3 separate regions of the Homo sapiens genome follow, and regions 2 and 3 are each linked to region 1. Evidence: promoter capture Hi-C in human tissues and cell types (Jung and others, 2019). All regions are on one chromosome and are shown on one strand. The core of a region is centred on a gene start or on the middle of the fragment in contact, and the rest is flanking DNA. Distances in the headings are between cores, read along the strand shown. Region 1 holds the start of ITGA2B (integrin subunit alpha 2b). Region 2 overlaps GPATCH8 (G-patch domain containing 8). Region 3 overlaps GPATCH8 (G-patch domain containing 8).

Region 1 (2,700 bases), core at 98-2,597:
AGTGGGAGGATAGAAGGTAAGTAGAGGACTGGGTTAAGTATTCGTTCAAGCAAATACATTAATTACACGCCTCCCATGTACTTGACACTGGGAACTCAGCAATGAAGAAGGCCCAGACCAAAGTTCAGGCTTTTAGCTTCCTGTCCTATAAAGGATAAGATTCTTAACTCTAGGCTGAGGTAGTAAATTACGAGGGGACTTCAAAATGGTACAGGGTGGTTGAGCAGGATACGGCAATGGTTAAGTTTGATCAGAAAATAGAAATCAAAAGGAAAATGTGGCTATGGTTACCCCTAGCGGACCTCTTAAATCTTCCTGAGAACCTGCTTTTTTGGGAAGGCATGAGTGCCAGTAAGACTTGGCACTCCTCCTCTTCCGCTTACCGAGAGAAAATGACTTTGCCTTTCTGCTCAAAACTCATCCCTTCACTTTGTCACCCTATGTTTGCATCTTCCATCCTTAGTGTGTGTTTCCATCCAGTCTTTCAGCAATACACGTACTACACATTGGACTCTTGGGTAGTCTCTAGGGCTGTAGCAAGGAGCCTTGCTCCCAAGGGACTCATTTACACAATCCTGTGAACGGACCAAGAGTAAACAGTGTGCTCAATGCTGTGCCTACGTGTGTTAGCCCACGCGGCCAGCCTGAGGAGTCAGGGAAGGCTCCCCTAGGCAAAGCCCCCAACCAGAATCAAGTCTTAATGGTTAAAGAGCTCCATCACCCAAAAAGGATTGAGGGCCTACCTTCAACTGAACAGCTAATGCATAATCTCAGAAACTGTGAGTCAAAATTCCCTGGAATAACTCCACTTTATCCCCAATCTCCTTGCCACCTAGACCAAGGTCCATTCACCACCCTGTCCCCAGCACTGACTGCACTGCTGTGGCCACACTAAAGCTTGGCTCAAGACGGAGGAGGAGTGAGGAAGCTGCTGCACCAATATGGCTGGTTGAGGCCGCCCAAGGTCCTAGAAGGAGGAAGTGGGTAAATGCCATATCCAAAAAGATACAGAAGCCTCAGGTTTTATCGGGGGCAGCAGCTTCCTTCTCCTTCCCCGACCTGTGGCCAAGTCACAAAGCACCACAGCTGTACAGCCAGATGGGGGAAGGGAGGAGATTAGAACTGTAGGCTAGAGTAGACAAGTATGGACCAGTTCACAATCACGCTATCCCAAGCAGAAAGTGATGGTGGCTTGGACTAGCACGGTGGTAGTAGAGATGGGGTAAAGATTCAAGAGACATCATTGATAGGCAGAACCAATAGGACATGGTAATAAACTATTCTCAGGAAAGGGGAGGAGTCATGGCTTTCAGCCATGAGCATCCACCCTCTGGGTGGCCTCACCCACTTCCTGGCAATTCTAGCCACCATGAGTCCAGGGGCTATAGCCCTTTGCTCTGCCCGTTGCTCAGCAAGTTACTTGGGGTTCCAGTTTGATAAGAAAAGACTTCCTGTGGAGGAATCTGAAGGGAAGGAGGAGGAGCTGGCCCATTCCTGCCTGGGAGGTTGTGGAAGAAGGAAGATGGCCAGAGCTTTGTGTCCACTGCAAGCCCTCTGGCTTCTGGAGTGGGTGCTGCTGCTCTTGGGACCTTGTGCTGCCCCTCCAGCCTGGGCCTTGAACCTGGACCCAGTGCAGCTCACCTTCTATGCAGGCCCCAATGGCAGCCAGTTTGGATTTTCACTGGACTTCCACAAGGACAGCCATGGGAGGTGAGCCGTAAGGGAAGTTGGGGTATTGGGAGAGAGCAGGACCCCTCCCCATCACTGCTTCTGGGGGCTTCGAGTTTCCCATTTGCGATAGCAGTTGAGCAAGGTGACTTGTGGGGCCTATTCAGGTTGATTTCTTGTCAAGAATGTTGGGGTCCAGGGGACTGGCTCAGGTGAAGGTATAAGGGCAGGGCACATGTGGGCTGATGGGCACTGAAAACTACAGCAAGAACAAAGGGAAGACAAGAGTTGATGCTTTATTTTTTCCCCAAGGGTCAGTTGTATGAACCACTCCACCCTCAACACCTTGAAATGCAGAGAGGAGGCCGGGCGCGGTGGCTCATGCCTGTAATCCCAGCACTTTGGGAGGCCGAGGCGGGCAGATCACCTGAGGTCGAGAATTCGAGACCAGCCTGACCAACATGGAGAAACCCCGTCTCTACTAAAAATACAAAAAAAAAAAAAAAAAAGAGACCAGGCACAGTGGCTCACACCTGCAATCCCAGCACTTTGGGAGGCAGAGGTGGGCAGATCATGAGGTCAGGAGTTCAAGACCAGCCTGGCCAATATGGTGAAACCCTGTCTCTATTAAAAATACAAAAATTAGCTGAGCGTGGTGGCACACTCCTGTAGTCCCAGCTACTCGGGAGGCTGAGGTAGGAGAATCACTTGAACCCGGGAGGTGGAGGTTGCAGTGAGCTGAGATCATGCCACTGCACTCCAGCCTGGGTGACAGAGTGACACTCCGTCTCAAAAAAAAAAAAATTAGCCGGGCGTGGTGCCGCATGCTTGTAATCCCAGCTACTCGGGAGGCTGAGGCAGGAGAATCGTTTGAACCTGAGAGGCAGAGGTTGTGGTGAGCCGAGATCATGCCATTGCACTCCAGCCTGGGCAACGAGAGCGAAACTCTGTCTCAAAAAAAAAAAAAAAAAAAAAAGAAAGGAAATGTGGAGAGGAGCACATGTCCTAAATTGATTTGCAGAACTAAAGTTG
Region 2 (2,700 bases), core at 183-2,682, 44 kb before region 1:
GACAAAAGTACAAGGTATTTAAACAAAGCTATTCATTGGGAGATGGGGAGGTGCTCACTGAATAAGAAAGAACTCAAATTTTGTTGAAAATCATCACTGTTGCTAACAGCATTTGTTTGACATTTGGTGGTAATTAGTAGTAGATCTCAGATTTCTATTACATTCCTATTTATTGGCTCTGTATAAACTATAGAGATAATAATACCTACTTCTAAAGTGTGTTAGAAAGATTACATGAATTAGTGTTTGAAAACACAATGCCTGTTACATAGTAGGTATTCAAGTAGTGGTAGCAGTAAAAATTGTTAAAAGTCCTTTGAGGCCAGACACAATGGCTCACACTTGTAACCCCAACACTTGCAGAGGCCAGACACAGTGGCTCACACTTGTAACCCCAACACTCAGTAGAGACGGGGTTTCACCATGTTGGTCAGGCTGGTCTCGAACTCCTGACCTTGTGATCCACCCGCCTCGGCCTCCCAAAGTGCTGGGATTACAGGCGTGAGCCACCACGCCAAGCCTAATTTTTGTGTTTTTAGTAGAGATGGGGTTTCACCATGTTGGCCAGGCTGGTCTTGAACTCCTTGCCTCAGGTGATCTGCCTGCCACGGCTTCCCAGTTTGCTGGGATTTCAGGCGTAAGTCACCGCGCTTGACCCCCTTTCTTGTTTTTGAACTTAGCTTAGCTATATATTAAATTTTTGTGTGTTTTATTTTATCCAGAACTATAATATAACCAACTCATCTTCTTTTCCTGCCCCTTTTTCTTTCCCCTTTTTCTTCTCCTTTCCTCTCTCTTTATTCACTCTTCAGCCTATTTATACTGACTTTAGCAGTTTTCACCAAACCACTTTATTCAAGGCCACCAAACACTTCTATTTGCTAAATCCAATAAATCATTTATTTATTTATTTATTTTATTATTATTATTAATATTATTATTTTTTTTAAAGACTGAGTCTCACTCTGTTGCCCAGGCTGGAGTACAGTGGTGTGATCTAAGCTCACTGCTCCCGGGTTCAAGTGATTCTCGTGCCTTAGCCTCCGAGTAGCTGGGACTACAGGTATGAGCCACCACGGCCAGCTAATTTTTTTGAATTTTTGGTAGAGATGGGGTTTCACCATGTTGGCCAGGCTGGTCTCGAACTCCTTACCTCACGTGATCTGCCCACCTCGGCCTCCCAAAGTGTGGGGATTACAGGCGTGAGCCACTGCGCCTGGCATACTCTTTCTTCTTTAAAACATTTTCATTACTCTTGGTTTTGAAGAATTTATACTTTCCTAGATTAGTTGCTTCTTATCTGTCTTGCTGCTTCTATGTAGATTCCTTTGTTGGCTGCTGTTTATTCTGCCTGAACTTCAGATATTGGAGTTCCTCAGCTTCAGACCTGGGCCCTCTTTTTCTGGCTACATTCTTTCTCTAGGCACAAGAGTGGTCATGACACCATGTTTCATCATCTTTCACTTGGTTAAATTTTCTCCTTTGGGTTTTAGCTTAAATATTACCTCATTATAGATCTTCCCTAATCAACTCATTTAAATAATTAACCACTCTGCCTTATTCTCTTGCAACAACCTCTCTTACAATTTGTAATTATAAATTTTTATTCACTAATTTATATTCTGCTTTCTGTACTAGTCAGAAAGGGCATTGAGGAGAGAGAGTATGTCTATTTGTCTGCCAGTATATATCCTGCATCCAGCACAGTGTGTGGTGCATAAGTACTCAATAAATATTAGTTGAATGAATAAATATTTTGAAATAGTGAGAAAAGCCAGATTCATTTTATGTACTGTCTGAAATATAAACATTATAAAGAATACATTTTTATTTTTCAAGTAAAAGTTACACTGTCGAGTGAAAAATAAATGAAATACCTCAGTAATTCACAGCCTCATAAGATTATACATAGTATCTTGAGATGCTCTCTCCCTGGTAATAGAATTATTTCTCGGCTGGGTGCGGTGGATCACGGCTGTGCTTTGGGAGGATTGCTTGAGCCCAGGAGTTTGAGAGCAGTCTGGGCAATGTAGCAAGAATCTGTCTCTACAAAAAGAAAAAAGAAAAAAAATAGCTAGGTGTTGGTGGTGCATGCCTATAAATCCCAGCTACTTAGAGAAGCTGAATTGGGAGGATCACTTGGGCCCAGGAGTTGAAGACAGCAGTGACCTATGATCACACCACTGCACTCCAGCCTGGGCAAGAGCAAGAATTACTTTCCCCATCTTATTGATCAAAATATTTACTCCGAAACCCTGTCAACTCTGAACTACACTGTTTCTAAAATCTTAAATGTCCTATTATCTGACCATGGTCTTTTTTCCTTCCTGCTGTCACTCCTTTATTCTCCTATATTTTTTCTTCAACTTCACATGACTTTGGAAGCTTTAGTAACTTAGCTCCTCCTTAATTTGTACTTTTCCCCTCTAGCACCACACACTCATGTTTACCTCTCACAGCACTTTGATTCCAACTCCCTTTCCTCCTAGTCCTTTTGTCATACATACTCACCAAAAGCCTGTCCCGTTAGTACAAAATGCATTACTTGCATTCTTTATTTCTATACCCTTTCTGCCAACCTCACTGGGCCCTCAGAGCTGCCAATTAATCCTCTCATGTGTCATGTCCCTCTTAGTCCTCTCAGCTGTCATTCTCAAACATTGGTACTCAGCCTTCATCTTTCCTTAACTACCCTTGTCG
Region 3 (2,700 bases), core at 119-2,618, 62 kb before region 1:
TTTAATGATAGGGCTGAAACCCAAACCCAAATTCTTTGATTTGCCATCGAAATCTCTTTTCATTATCCCAGCCAGGCATTGGTGATGGAAATAAAATAATAGTCTGCTCAAAGAATGTCTGAGGATGGAGATGGAAAACCATTTAGAAAGTTGTCTGGGTATGAGTATAGATAAGGACTTGAAAGAGTAATAGTGGAAATGGAAAGGAAGGAATAACTATGAAGGCTGATAAAACAGGTCAACTATGAAGACAATATATAGTCAGTTTATGCACATGTTTGACTAGCAAGCCCCTATTCACTAGATTTAGTGTTAATCTTTTATAATAGCCATCATTTATTAAGTGTTTACTGAGTGCTTGGACATGGATTTTCTAACTTAAATCCTCTTTGAGGTAGATACTCCCATTTTACCCAAAGAGCATTTTACCAAAAGATCTTTGCCCAAGATCTTTTTTCCTTTTTTTTTTTTTCTTTTTTTTTTTTTTTTTGAGACGGAGTGTTGCTCTGTCACCCAGGCTGGAGTGCAGTGGTGCAGTCTCGGCTCACTGCAACCTCCACCTCCCTGGTTCAAGCAATTCCCCTGCCTCAGCCTCCCAACTAGCTGAGATTATAGGTGCATGCCACCACACCTGACTAATTTTCCTGTATTTTTATTAGAGACGGGGTTTCACTATGTTGGCCAGACTGGTCTCAAACTCCTGACCTCGGGCAATCCGCCCGAATCGGCCTCCCAAAGTGCTGGGATTACAGGCTTAAGCCACCACGCCCAGCCTGCCCAAGATCTTACAGCAGATAAGTGGTAGAATCTTGGTGCCAAAACCTATGCTTTTAACCAATATGCTGTAATGTACCTAAACTGTAGGTGCTAGCTTACTTCCCTATCCTGGAGAGATATGATGGTGGTGAGAAATACCAGTGCCACCGAATTGAAATATACAGTAGTTATTCAGGCCAGAAAAAGTGGAGATAATTCTGAATGTGATATATTCTCGTAGGGCACTTGAAGTGGTCATATATATTCTTCATGATGAGTATAAATTCACTAGAAACTTAAGGCTAAAGTTGAGTGGTAAGAACTTTTGCCAAATATTTAGGGATGGAAATTGGTGTCCAGGGAAAAAGAAAATACTGTAACTTATGTCTCATACTATAATTTCCTCCCTGACTTCTACTTTCTGTTTCTCTCCTGTGGCATTTTAAATATTCAATCTTGTATAATTTTTGTTGATGTGTCTCTTTTACCTAATTCAGTAGACTGTAAATTCCTAAAGGATAGTAATTACTGTGCATTTATGTATTCTCTGTTGCTGTTTTTCTTGTTTTGTATTCTGCATATGTTTATTGCATGCTTAAAAGGTGCCAGATCTGGGTTGGGTGTGGTGGCTCACGACTGTAATCACAGCTCTATGGGAGGACGAGGCAGGTGGATCACTTGAGGCTAGGAGTTCAAGACCAGCCTGGCCAACATGGCGAAACCCTCTCTACCAAAATATACAAAAATTAGCCAGGCATGTTGGTGCACGCCTGTAATCCCAGCTACTTGGAAGGCTGAGGCATGAGAATAGCTTGAACTCAGGAGGCGGAGGTTACAGTGAGCCGCCTGGGTGACAGAGTAAGACTCTGTCTCCAAAGAAAAAGAGAAAAAGAATGTGCCAGATCTGTACTAAGTCTTTAAGAGTGAATAAGATAGAACCTCTGCCCTCCAGAGGTTTATTTCTAATAGGGAAACAAATAATGTAACAAATTTAATACAGTATAATGATTGTTTTAATTGTGAAGTTAAAGGTACAGTGGAAGCTTAATAGAGAATTGAGCAATTTAAGTTATAATTTCAAATTTTTTATAATAATTAACAAGTGAAAAGTCTCAGATTGTGAGAATAAAGAAGCAACCAACTATTTTCTATCTGTGCATCTATACTTGCTGATAGATACATGGAGTACAGGTGTCTGTGAGTTAGTGGAATCTCTTTATTCTTCCATGAGAAGCGTTGGTATTTTAAAGTGGAATGAAATCTGAAAATGATAAGAACATAAAGTAAAAAGTGTTTTATAATAAACATATTTTATTAAAATCTTTCAAAAGTTCATTTAAAATTTACCACCAAAATTCAAAACAATGGCACTTAAAACACTCGGAAAAGAGAACAAAGTGTAATATATTTTTATGTAGTATTTCAAATGTAGTTTATTAGTTTTAAATCCAGTATTTCCTTTCTCACTAAATCTTCCCAAACCAGTAGATAGAAATCCCACTTGGTTTTCTTGTAAATCCCATTTGGTTCAAAAGGAGGGAGCAAAGAATGTAGACCTGAAGTAGGAGTTGGGGCCCGATGATAGCATACGTTGTTGAAATTGAGTGAGTGTGAGACAATAGCAAGTGGTGTGAGTTTTGCTGTGTTTAGAGAAGGTAATTGTTGCCACCTAAGATTATAATCTCAGTGTTGCTGGATCTTCTAAAATTGTTAAAAGCAGCCAGGAATTCAGATTCCTTTTCTGTGAAATGTTCTAATTGATAAATGTTGGCTTGAAGTCTAAAATAATGAAATTAAACAAAACATACCAGGCTGTATTTGAACCGCAAGTTACTACTTTGTGAGCTCATCTGAAATTTCACCTGGGTTCAATTCTAACTCTGCAACTAGTAAGCACTGTGACCTTGCTATACCCTCCATATAGCCATATTTTTACAAGATTTG

The links. The method cuts DNA at HindIII sites, captures the fragments that hold promoters and counts their contacts. A contact is called where the count stands out against the background at its distance.
Region 2: a contact is called between a fragment that was not itself captured here and the fragment with the promoter of ITGA2B in region 1, in 5 of the 25 tissues and cell types used here (IMR-90 fibroblasts, dorsolateral prefrontal cortex, lymphoblastoid cells and 2 more).
Region 3: a fragment that was not itself captured here is called in contact with the fragment with the promoter of ITGA2B in region 1 in 1 of the 25 tissues and cell types used here (pancreas).

The regions. Positions count from the first base shown.
Region 1 is chr17:44,388,296-44,390,995 of GRCh38, reverse strand. It overlaps ITGA2B (integrin subunit alpha 2b), which reads left to right and starts at 1,347. Exons shown (of 30, transcript NM_000419.5): 1 at 1,347-1,710. The coding sequence starts at 1,523. RefSeq lists an enhancer at 1,131-1,190. The HindIII fragment of the contact is 17,139 bases long and covers 87-2,700 here.
Region 2 is chr17:44,432,379-44,435,078 of GRCh38, reverse strand. GPATCH8 (G-patch domain containing 8) reads left to right here. Exons shown (of 8, transcript NM_001002909.4): 5 at 1-14. Among named protein-coding and RNA genes, the nearest start is that of ITGA2B, 44 kb to the right of the region's middle. The HindIII fragment of the contact is 4,000 bases long and covers 1-2,700 here.
Region 3 is chr17:44,450,063-44,452,762 of GRCh38, reverse strand. All of the region lies in intron 3 of GPATCH8 (G-patch domain containing 8), which reads left to right. Among named protein-coding and RNA genes, the nearest start is that of GPATCH8, 52 kb to the left of the region's middle. The HindIII fragment of the contact is 3,187 bases long and covers 1-2,700 here.